2 separate regions of the Homo sapiens genome follow, and region 1 is linked to region 2. Evidence: promoter capture Hi-C in human tissues and cell types (Jung and others, 2019). All regions are on one chromosome and are shown on one strand. Each heading gives the region's core, a stretch centred on a gene start or on the middle of the fragment in contact. The rest is flanking DNA. Distances are from core to core; before and after follow the strand shown.

Region 1 (5,499 bases), core at 1,870-4,369, 1.4 Mb before region 2:
CCTTGGGACCCAGGTAGAGAGGACCTCAGAACAAAGCAGAGGTGAGTGCAGAGAAGCTGGTACTACCCTCTGCGCCTAGCAACCCTCTTCCCCAAAATCTCAGCCCCTCTACTCTCAGCTGCTTTTCCACTCCCAGATTTCTATGTAGGGTTCACAATCTCAGGGATGGGCCAATGGTACAGAGGAATTCAGGACGCAGGAGAACCTGTTCGATATTACAGCTTGTAGATCTATTAAAATTCCTCTGCAGATTTGGGAAAAAGATTAATGAGTGTTCATATTTAGCTCTGTTTCCATGAGAAAGCCTGTGGAAAAACATTTTTAAAAGCACCTATAGTAGCTAATCCAGAAAATAAATCAAATTAGTCACTGTCGAGGGCTTGTATTATAGTCTAAAATAAGAGAAACTTTTTGATGAGTGGCTAGCTTGGGGGTAGAACTTTGTGGTGTATTTTACGGCACAAAGTTTACTATTATTTCAAAGTTAGTTTAGCTTCTACCCTAGGATAATATTTTGCAAATAGCACCAAGCTGGACGTCCTGAGACCCGGGTTTTGATTTTAGACCTCCCGCTGATAAGCTGTGTGACTTTCTTCAAGTTACTCTCTCTGGGGGTTAATTTTCTCATTTCTAAACAGAAGGAGGACTAGATATTTGAGGTTCTTCCAGCTCTAATATCCTATTTGTCTATGAATAAAAATGTATTTACTCATTTGCACGCAGTATTTCATTTACACCTACAGACTCAGGCATGAAATGAGGTGCTCGGGTCAGGCCGGGAGTGACTTAGCGGACTGGAGGCAGCTGCTTCGATGTGCCTGACCGACCAAGTAGGAGTGTCCTAGAACTATTCATTTACACCTTTGCATGCACTGTTTCATTTACACCTAACAACAACATGATGATATAAGAAACTTTATTATTCACACTTGGCAGACACAGAAACTGAGAATTAGGAAGAAGGGGTAATCTGACAAAGAGATTCTCAATAGATGTTGAAAAATGAAAGTTTAGGTGTGGCCCAATTTTGATTCTCCATGGAAATATCCAGCCATGGACTTTTCACATGTGCTGTAGAGTTTGTTAGTAGTTGAGGCCCAAAGATTTTGAAGTCTTTTAAAACTCTGAAACATTAGGAAAGTTTGGTTTCTCTAAATGTTATGAAAATTTTGCATCTCAATACAAGCCATTTATAACAGATAAGAACATTTCTACAAAACAGATTCTTTCCAGCTGGATTCGTGTATGTATGCATGTAAGTCCGTCTCCTAAAATTTCAAGGGCAGTAATGAATCAATAGTATGTCTTAAATCTGAGATGTCTGATAAAACACAGAAAGATATATACATTCTAAAATATCAAGTTGATTAACAAATATTTAGTGAGCATACCACTATGGACTTTTTTGTTCCAAATGAATTTGAGTCTTTAATGTGGTTCAAGAGCTACCTGGATGGGATCAGAATCAGTTCCCATCTATGTGCCCCAGGACAGAGCCTGATCCCTACCTGATTTCCAAGGCCATGGCCCTATTAGACCACACACAATGCAGATTCTGTAATTAGTATCTTGGCATTTATGAGAAAGTTCACAATGTCAAACTGTATGTGGGGCATGACACAGAATCTTAACAGGTACTTGGTGAGTAAACATTGAATGAAAGCTAACATGAAAATATTCTCCTTTTGAAAAAACATAGACAAGTTTAAGGCCATTTCAGCAAGCGAGATTTCAGGTGGCAATAAATGATGTTAATTATAAGGGCAAAAATACATGGTTGTTCATGGTTTTTCTCGTGCCCAACCAGTCCTGCGCTTTCTTAAGATTAAATTTTCAATTTCCTCGTGACAAAGAAAGTACTGATACTAGTTTTTTACTTTATACTTTTTTTTTTTTTTTTTTTTTTTGAGACGGAGTTTCGCTGTTTTCACCGAGGCTGGAGTACAATGGTGCGATCTCGACTCACTGCAACCTCCACCTCCTGGGTTCAAGAGATTCTCCTGCCTCAGCCCCCCGAGTAGCTGGGATTACAGGCACCATGTCCAGCTAATTTTTGTATTTTCAGTAGAGAAAGGGTTTCATCATGCTGGCCAGGCTGGTCTCGAACTCCTGACTTCAGGTGATCCACCCGCCTTGGTCTCCCAAAGTGCAGAGATTACAGGCATGAGCCACCGCGCCCAGCCTACTTTATACTTTTAAAAGCACTTTGATTATATCTCATTGGATTCGTGTATGTTTTTCTTTTTGTACAGAAAAACTGGAATGGATTTTTTATATAAGTTATTGAAAGACATTTTCATGTAAACATTGACTTAAATTTTATGTGGAGATGAACAACTCGTTTTGTTTTTGTTTTCCTTTTTGTTTCTGCAATAGTATCTTCTGGCTAAAAAGAATAGTTGCTTTTACAAGTAACAAAAGAAATGAAAGTATACTTTGGAGGCAGCTGTCACTTACACATTTTTTGAGGAGTCCAGGTTGTTGGCTAAAAAGATATTTTTTGGGGAAAACTACTTTTACACAAATGCTGCCTATTTAGGTCTAAATGCTGTGATGAAATGGAGAACTTTGAGAACTAAAAGACATGCCACCCTGTTTTAAGTTGTATGACCAGGAAAATAAGCCTTTACCAAACTGTTTTTCTGATTCACAGTGCATTTTAATAAGCATAATTCAGTTGTCCAGTTCTCAGCAGCACCAAAGAGACAGCAACACTGTAGGTGGCTGATTAATATTTTATGTTTATCTTTAGTAACTAACCATGTCAATATGTGAGGATGTTCTGAAAGAAAAAACATATTCAAAACAGACTTCCTTTGCTATGCAATTTCTTTGGGGTATTTTATTTTTAAGAGTGTTTATGTTAAAGCTTTTAAAATGTTGTACAATGTATCCAAATAGTAGTAGTAACTCACATTTAATAAACTTTATATAAAAGTGTAAGGATGGAAAATTACTGGCTCAACAACTGTTTAGGGAAAGTTTCTTTCCTATTATCACCTGCTATATTGCAAATATCTTTTTGAGTATTATTTAAATTTTTTAACCTTAATATACTTTTGAATAAACTAGCTGAGTCCAGGTCATTGCCTTTTACATTTCTCAGAGTTTTTCCAGATTTTCCTTTATGTTGGCAATAATCATGTTATTTTCTTTCTTTTGTAGTATCATGTACCACTAATATATATTTTCCCAACTCCTCACAAAGAGCTAGGTGTATCAAAGCTTCATTTTTCTGGTCATACATATTATTTAGTAGAAGGTTTTATCTTTCTTAAAGGAAGGAATGTCAGTCAAAATCATCATGTAGATGATTCTCACGAACTCATTAAAGAGAGAGACCATATTTTATAAATATTTATAAAATATTTAAGACATTTAACAACTGATAAGGCTCAGGCACCAACCAAGCAGAACAGACACTGGCCATAAAGCTGAACAAAGTGTGCAGGCTCACTCAGGGGCATACAAGAACACGTCAGTGGCTCGTATGGAGAAAGTGGGAGGGGCGGAACCCAGGGAGAGGCCACGGCGGGGTGGGGACACTGGCAGGGACCCCATAATCATGACTGGATTCCTGCGTTTCTTAAACGTGGTGCTACTGACATTTTGGGGAGCGTTATCGCTCTTTGCTGTTGGGGGCTGCTGTCCTGATGTAGGATGTTTAGGAATCTCTCTGGCTTCTACCCACTAGTTGCCATTTTCACTTCCCCCTCAGTTATGACAACCAAAAAATGTCACCAGATATTTTCAAATGTCTCCTGGGAAGTAAAATCACCCTAGTTGAGAACCACTGTGATATACCCTCTGGGGCAGCAATATTTCCATATTCTAACAGCCGTTACATTCCTACCATCACCAACAGGGTCTTGAACTGTTGCCTGCTTTACAGAGCTTAGTAAAGATTTGTCAAATAAATGAATGATTCTTGTAGTCAGTCAACATACTGGGAATAACCTTTTAGGAAAGGTTGACTCATAAATTATCTCTTGTACTTGGAGTGTGGGTACATCTCGATTTATGACTACGCAGGTGTTTGGTGAGAGACCCTTCAACCTATTGACCACAAAGCTTGACACCCTGGGAGCCTCTGAAGCATGAAGCCTAGAGCTCATTGCTTGCAGCTCGTCTCACTTTGTACATGCTCCTTAGTTCAATCCATCTACTCTCATGGTTTTTACTTGTATGCAGATAAATTCTATCCTTGTATCTCTATCCCTCAACCCCTGTCTGAACTTAAGCTGCAGATCTACTGGCCCTGTGTATATATTTACCTTACACACAACATGCAGAGAACTGAACTCAGCTTTGGTCTGCCTCCACTGCCATAGGGCAAGCTTCACTTCCTGTCTTGTCTAACTGAATTAGATAATTATTACCTCATCCTTGGTGGTAATCTGGGTAACTCTTTGTCCTGCAACTCCTACATGCGCATAATAGTCACAAAGTCCAGTGAACTTAACCACCAATAGTTTGGATTTCTTTCCCTCTTCCTTGCTTTCTGTTCCCTGGACTAATTCTAGGCTCCTGACTGGTCTTCCATAGTGTGTTCTGTCTCAAATCCAAACCTCACATGCTTCCACCATCATCTATCAAAACAGCAACACCATATTGAAATGCTTCTGTTTTCCAAGGGGTAAAATCTACATTCCTTGGCGCGCCTTTCTAGGTCCTCCACAACCTGGCCTCTGCTCAGTGGAGGAGCCTCCACACTGGCATTTCATGCTCCGGCAATTTTTTTTTTTCTAATTAAAGTTCTGGGATACATGTGCAGAATGTGCAGCTTTGTTACGTAGGTATACATGTGCCATGGTGGTTTGCTGCACCCATCAACCTGTCATCTACATTAGGTATTTCTCCTAATGCTCTCCCTCCCCTCTCTACCCTCCAACAGGCCCTGGTGTGTGATCTTCCCCTCCCTGTGTCCATGTGTTCTCATCGTTCAACTCCCACTTATAAGTGAGAACATGCGGTGTTTGGTTTTCTGTCCCTGTGTTTGCTGAGGATGATGGTTTCCAGCTTCATCCATGTCCCTGCAAATGATATGAACTCATCTTTTTTATGGCTGCATAGTATTCCATGGTATATATGTGGCACATTTTCTTTGTGCAGTCTATCATTGATGGGCATTTGGGTTGGTTCCAAGTCTTTGCTATTGTGGATAGTGCATGCTTCAGCAATTCCGAACAGCTATTAATACGCTGTTACCATCGACCTGCTCCTCTGACCTGGAACACCCTCTTCACCCTGTGTCATCTAATCAACTCCTCATCCTTCCATGCAGGTGACACCTCTTCTGGGAAGCTTTGTCTGCCTTGTTTATCCTGGGTCCAGGAGTGCTCTCATTGGTGGCACTCTGGGCCTTCCTTGAGGAAGCATTATCACCCTAGGGTGAATGATCTGTTTAACTGTTATGTGGTTTGTCTCCAGGGCAGAGATTATGTCCTATTCATCTTTATATCCTTAATTCCAGCCATAGTTGCTCAGTAGATGATGCTG
Region 2 (5,640 bases), core at 1,364-3,863:
AAAATGTTTTTGTTTTTATTATTTTATTAACTTATTTATTTATTTTTGAGACCGAATCTCTGTCGCCCAGGCTGGAGCACAGTGGCACGATCTCAGCTCACTGCAACCTCCGCCTCCCGGGTTCAACCGACTCTCCTGCCTCAGCCTCCCGAGTAGCTGGGACTACAGGCGCGTGAAACCACACCCAGCTAATTTTTTGTATTTTTAGTAGAGACGGGGTTTCACCGTGTTGGCCACACTGATCTGGAACTCCTGACCTCAGGTTATCTGCCCGCCTCAGCCTCAGTGCTGGGATTACAGGTGTGACCCACCGTGCCTGGCTTGTTTTTATTATTTTAAATGAATAACTATAAAATGCAGTTTTAAATTTCTAATACAGTAAACATAGATATTAACGCTCATAAACAAAAGCTTATTGGGATCTTCGTCAATAATGAGTGCAAAGGAGTACTGATTCCAAAAAGTTGAGAATCTTGGCCTGAAAAGGCATATTCCCCACAAATAGGACTGTGAATGAATGCATCCATAATTTTGATATGTTTTGTCAGTTTCCCAAGCACAAAAGTTGTACAATTTTGCACTCCAAGCAACAAATTAAAAAGATGTTAAACTTTTGGATCATTGCCCACTGGCTGGGTGAGAAATAGTGTATTCATATATTTTCAACTTCCATCTGTTATATTATTAATATGTCTAAGCCTTTTATTTTCATATGCTAAAAAACCATTTTCACTTCTTTTGCTGTGAAGTCTATGTTCAAGCCTCTCTCTCAGTTTATTCCATCAGGTTTGGCCTTTTTGGAGGGAGGGGTCAATTTTAAGAGAGAGCTATAGATCCAAGTTCCTGTAAATTGTGTGAGTTGCAAATACTTTCTCCCTCCTTCCTTGTTTTTGATGCTCTCATCCTTTCTTCTGCTTAGGTCTTTGAAATCCCTGCTGGTTTCCCGTGTCTTAGGTCCCTGAACATGTCCGAGATGACTCCACTGAGTCACCAAAACAAAGAAATTCACCAACTCAAATTTTTCCTTGAGCTCTCAGCAGCAGTTAACATAGCTGACCACACCCTTCTTCCTAGAATGTTTTCTTCTCTCATCTGTCTGCAGCTGACATTCCTCTAACTTGTCTGGTCTTGTTCTCCGTGGCCTTTTCTGGTCCCACATCCTCTGAACCTCTCAATCTTGGGGTGCTTCAAGGTTGAGTTCTGGTCTCCCAGTCCTGGTCTCTCCCTAGGTAATCTTACTCGTTTCTGAAGATTTAAGTTCCATTCTCCGATTTCAATCTCCTGCCCAATTCCCAACATTTTTGCAATAGAATGTCTAAGGAGCACTCAAAATTAACATATCTAAAGCCGCTCAGGATCTCAACCCAGTGGCTCTCTTCCCCCAAACTCATTCCTTTAGAGCCACAGTTTAAGCCTTCCTTTCACCAATTCAACTATTGTTTTCCAAATTTATATTCTGTCCTGCCCTCCTCGTCCATCTCCAGCTCCTCTCTGCTCAACCACCAGAATACTATTTTAAAACCAAAACCAAGTGAGCAGGTTTGTGGTCACTTTCTATGGCATTAGAGTAAGATCGAAGTGGGTAATAACCCCGTCCTATACAATCTGGCCTCCTGCCTTCTTCTGATCTCTCTATAGCTTTCCCCCATCACTGTCAATCTAGCTGCCTCTAATTCATCACAGCCCTTCCCCCTTCCGTGGCCAACAGAGCTCTTCTCTCATATTTTTGCAATTCCAGCTGCCTCTTCTTTCTTCTCTTCAGTTCTCAGCTCAAATGTCTTCCCAAGAGAGACCTTTCCATCACTACTCAATTTGAAATACCTTCCCACTACTCATCTCCTTATTTTATTTTCTTAGTAGCGAAAAGATTTTATCTTTCTATGAACAAGTTTACTTGTGGGTCACTCTCCATCCATAAGAAACTAAGTCCTTGAGATGCCCTGTGTCTACATCTGACATACTCGATGCACAATAAATATTGTAAACGATATTTTATGTTAAACCAGTAAAAATTGAAGGTGTAATGAGAGAGGGACAGAGACTAAATATTTTTACAGAAACAGCAAAGGAAAATTGACGAATTAAGTCCCCAGCATGTTGTCTACCCTTATTTTGTTTTTCCTAATATTTTTCTTCAGGCTTTTTCCTGATAACACACAGATACACACACACACACATAGATTCTAAGATCAAGTTTAGAAATCTAAAGAAACAATTATTAAGAAAATGATCTATAGAGAAAATCTCACTTACTTTCTTTGTAGCAATCCTGGGTATTTCCTTTTTTTTTTTTTTTTTTTTTTTTGAGACAGGGTCTTGCTCTGTCACCCAGGCTGGAATGCAGTGGCGCAATCTCGGCTCACTACAGCCTCGAGCTCCCAGGCTCAAGTGATTCTCCCACCTTGACCTCCTGAGTAGCTGGGATTACAGGCGCTGCACGACCACACCCGGCTAATTTTTGTATTTTTTGTAGAGACGGGGTTTCAGTATTTTTCCCAGGCTGGTCTTGAACTCCTGGGCTCAAGCAATCTGCCTGCTTCAGCCTCCCAAAGTACTGGGATTACAGGAATGAGTCACCACACCGAACCAAGGTATTTCCTTTAGGGAAAAAGCTGGAACAGTGGAGACTGAAGAGATTTTATCTGTTCAATTCCTCCCTCAGCCCCGCCCTCACACCATCAGGAAGGCGTCTGTGAAGTTTCTTATCATATTCACACAATTAATCTCATTAGAACCACCTGAGTTTATTAAAACGCAAGCCTCTTCACAGGGTCTCTGATTCCAGAAATCTACGGTGGGGTCCGTAATTTACATTTTTAATGGACTCCCAGAAAATGCTTAATAGCCCTGACCTTGGTTGGATAAATATCTTGTTTTATCTCCAGTGCCATGTACAGTGCCTAACACCTCTAGCTCCTTAAGGTTTGGGGTTTTCTTTCTTAATGAATCTAGTGTATATTGACAATTTCACAGGAAAGAAGCCTTCGAGCTAACACTCAAGACTGTGTTTGTTCCTTAGTAGAAAATAATGCCTGACTTGTTAGTTTCTAGAACGTTTGCTGGAGAAGTGTTCATTCCAGTATCTGTGGAAAGAAAAACCAAGAGTAGGGATAACTGCCTATGGAATCTGTCACAGATGGGAGGTCAGGGAACAATCCCAGATAATTCATACTTGATATTTGGCTTCAGTGAGGAGGAACTCTTCACAGCTTTCTAAGTTTTATAGTTTTGTCCCCGAGGGTTTTTATTGCATCAGTCAGTCAATCCCCTGCTAATCAAACCAGGGAGTTTTTTTCTTTATGCTGCTGACAGGATAATGAGAATTCTTCTGCTTTGCTTATCTGATCTTTCAGAACCTGGTTCTACCTTATGGAATCTCAATACACCGTTTCTCTTTTTCTTTTTTCTTTCTTTTTTTTTTTTTTTAGATGAGAGTCTCACTCTGTTGCCTAGGCTGGAGTGCGGTGGAGCGATCTCGGCTCACTGCAGCCTCCGCCTCCCAGGTTCAAGCAATTTTCCCACTTCAGCCTCCCGAGTAGCTGGGATTATAGGCGCCCACCACACCCAGCTAATTTTTGTATTTTTAGTGGAGATGGGGTTTCACCATGTTGGCCAGGCTGGTCTCAAACTCCTGACCTCAGGTGACCCACCCTCCTTGGCCTCCAAAAGTTCTGGCCACCGCGCCTGGCCATACACCCTTTCTCTTATCTCAGATGATTACCTACACCCACTCTCTTTTCCAAAACCCAATTCCCCAGCTTTCTTCAAATAGACCACATTTATTCCTGTGCCCCCTCCCCTCCTCAGCCAGTCCATCCTCCTTTACTTCTCTTATTTTTCTAATCCAATCTTCCTTTCTCTTCTAAGCCTGGGTACGGCCAACGTCTGTGAAGATACTCACACATACTTGTTGTCAGATACTCTGTCATTTACTCTCACCATCCCTTGAGCTTTCATAACTCTTGAGCTTACTCATCTTGACAAGAAAACTTTGTAATCTTTGAATCAAATGGAAAATAAACATCAAGCATATTGTCAGGTTTTGAAGTCTCTTAAAGCCTGTTTTAGAGTATTAAATGCTTAAATAAATACTTATTAAAGCCTGTTTTACTATTAAATAAATATTTATTAATAATTAAATTATTAATTCTAGAAGAGTCAATATTTTAAGATAATTCTAAAAACATTACAAAAAAGTGTGCTAAACCCTTATTTACTGTTACATGCCCCACCTGTTGCATGCTCCAACCCCGTGAGGTACATCTGCAGCTGATGAAGTAGATGACGTAGAGATTAAGTCACGGGATTAAGTAATTGACCAAGAGCACTGGGTGCAGAAAATTGAAGATATGGAATTTGAATCGGGTGCCAAATTTCATGATATTTCCTTATTATAATTATTTGTCCTTATTAAATATTAATCAAATGGCTTGACAATTTACAAAAAAGATGCCTCAAATTTGTATGACAATTTATCACGAGATGCTTTCATAGGGCTAGAGTAATCACATTACAAGGAACACAGATCATTTTAAGGTAGTTAGATTTTTCATAGGAAAACTTTTCATTAAAATGAAAATCCTGAAGAAATGTAGTTTTTTTTCACTGTCAAAGAACAAATACAATTATGAATGAGTGAGTCATTGTTCTCCTGAGTCATTTCATGAACTTATAACAGTCGTATCCCAGCCGGGCACTCTGGCTCATGCCTGTATCCCCAGCACTTTGGGTGACCGAGGCGGGTGGATCACTTGAGGTCAGGAGTTCGAGACCAGCCTGGCCAACATGGGAAACCTCATCTCTACTAAAAATACAAAAATTAGCCGGAAATTGCTTGAACCCAGGAGGCGGAAGCTGTAGTGAGCCAAGATCGTGCCACTGCACTCCAGCCTGGGCAACAGAGCAAGACTCGGTCTCAAAAAACCAGGACAAAACAAAAACAGTCCTGTCCCCTTTGTTAGCCACATCACCTTCACCACTCGCCCCAGGCTGGCATACTCTCGGCTTCTGGGTGGGATGAGTATGGCTGGTGCCAAACAAGGCTGTATTTGTTACTTTGGACCAAATCTGCGGCAGGAGACTACCACCTCCTCCCATTCCAGAAAAGAACAGCTGGAGGCGGGGGTGTGCTGGTTGTGGTCCCAGTGTTATCACTCATCTGGAAGGTGTGGCTTCTCTCTGGCTCCTTTTCTCCAAGGCTGCTCCATTAGAAGCAGGGGCTTGGCTCTCACTGGTTTACTTCCCACAGCTCTAAGAGGTCCAGAAGTCATGTTCAACTGCTTCTTCCTTGCTTAAGAAAGCATTAAAACTTAAGAATCAGGCCAGGCGCAGTGGCTCACGCCTGTAATCCCAGCACTTTGAGAAGCCGAGGCAGGCGGATCACCTGAGTTCCGGAGTTCGAGACCAGCCTGATCAACATGGAGAAACCCCGTCTCTACTAAAAATACAAAATTAGCCGGGCGTGGGCGCATGCCCAGCTACTCAGGAGGCTGAGGCAGGAGAATCACTTGAACCCAGGAGGTGGAGGTTGCAGTGAGCCGAGATCGCGCCACTGCACTCCAGCCTGGGCAACAAGAGCAAAGCTCTGTCTCAAAAAAAAAAAAAAAAAATTAAGAGTCAAACATTATGGGGGCCGGGCAC

What was found. The method cuts DNA at HindIII sites, captures the fragments that hold promoters and counts their contacts. A contact is called where the count stands out against the background at its distance.
Region 1: a contact is called between a fragment that was not itself captured here and the fragment with the promoter of TRIML2 in region 2, in 1 of the 25 tissues and cell types used here (dorsolateral prefrontal cortex).

The regions. Positions count from the first base shown.
Region 1 is chr4:186,751,680-186,757,178 of GRCh38, forward strand. No RefSeq gene overlaps it. Among named protein-coding and RNA genes, the nearest start is that of FAT1, 31 kb to the left of the region's middle. The HindIII fragment of the contact is 3,401 bases long and covers 1,420-4,820 here.
Region 2 is chr4:188,106,990-188,112,629 of GRCh38, forward strand. TRIML2 (tripartite motif family like 2) reads right to left here and starts at 2,614. Exons shown (of 8, transcript NM_173553.4): 1 at 2,254-2,614. RefSeq lists enhancers at 1-88, 608-1,126, 1,127-1,645, 5,278-5,640. The HindIII fragment of the contact is 13,208 bases long and covers 1-5,640 here.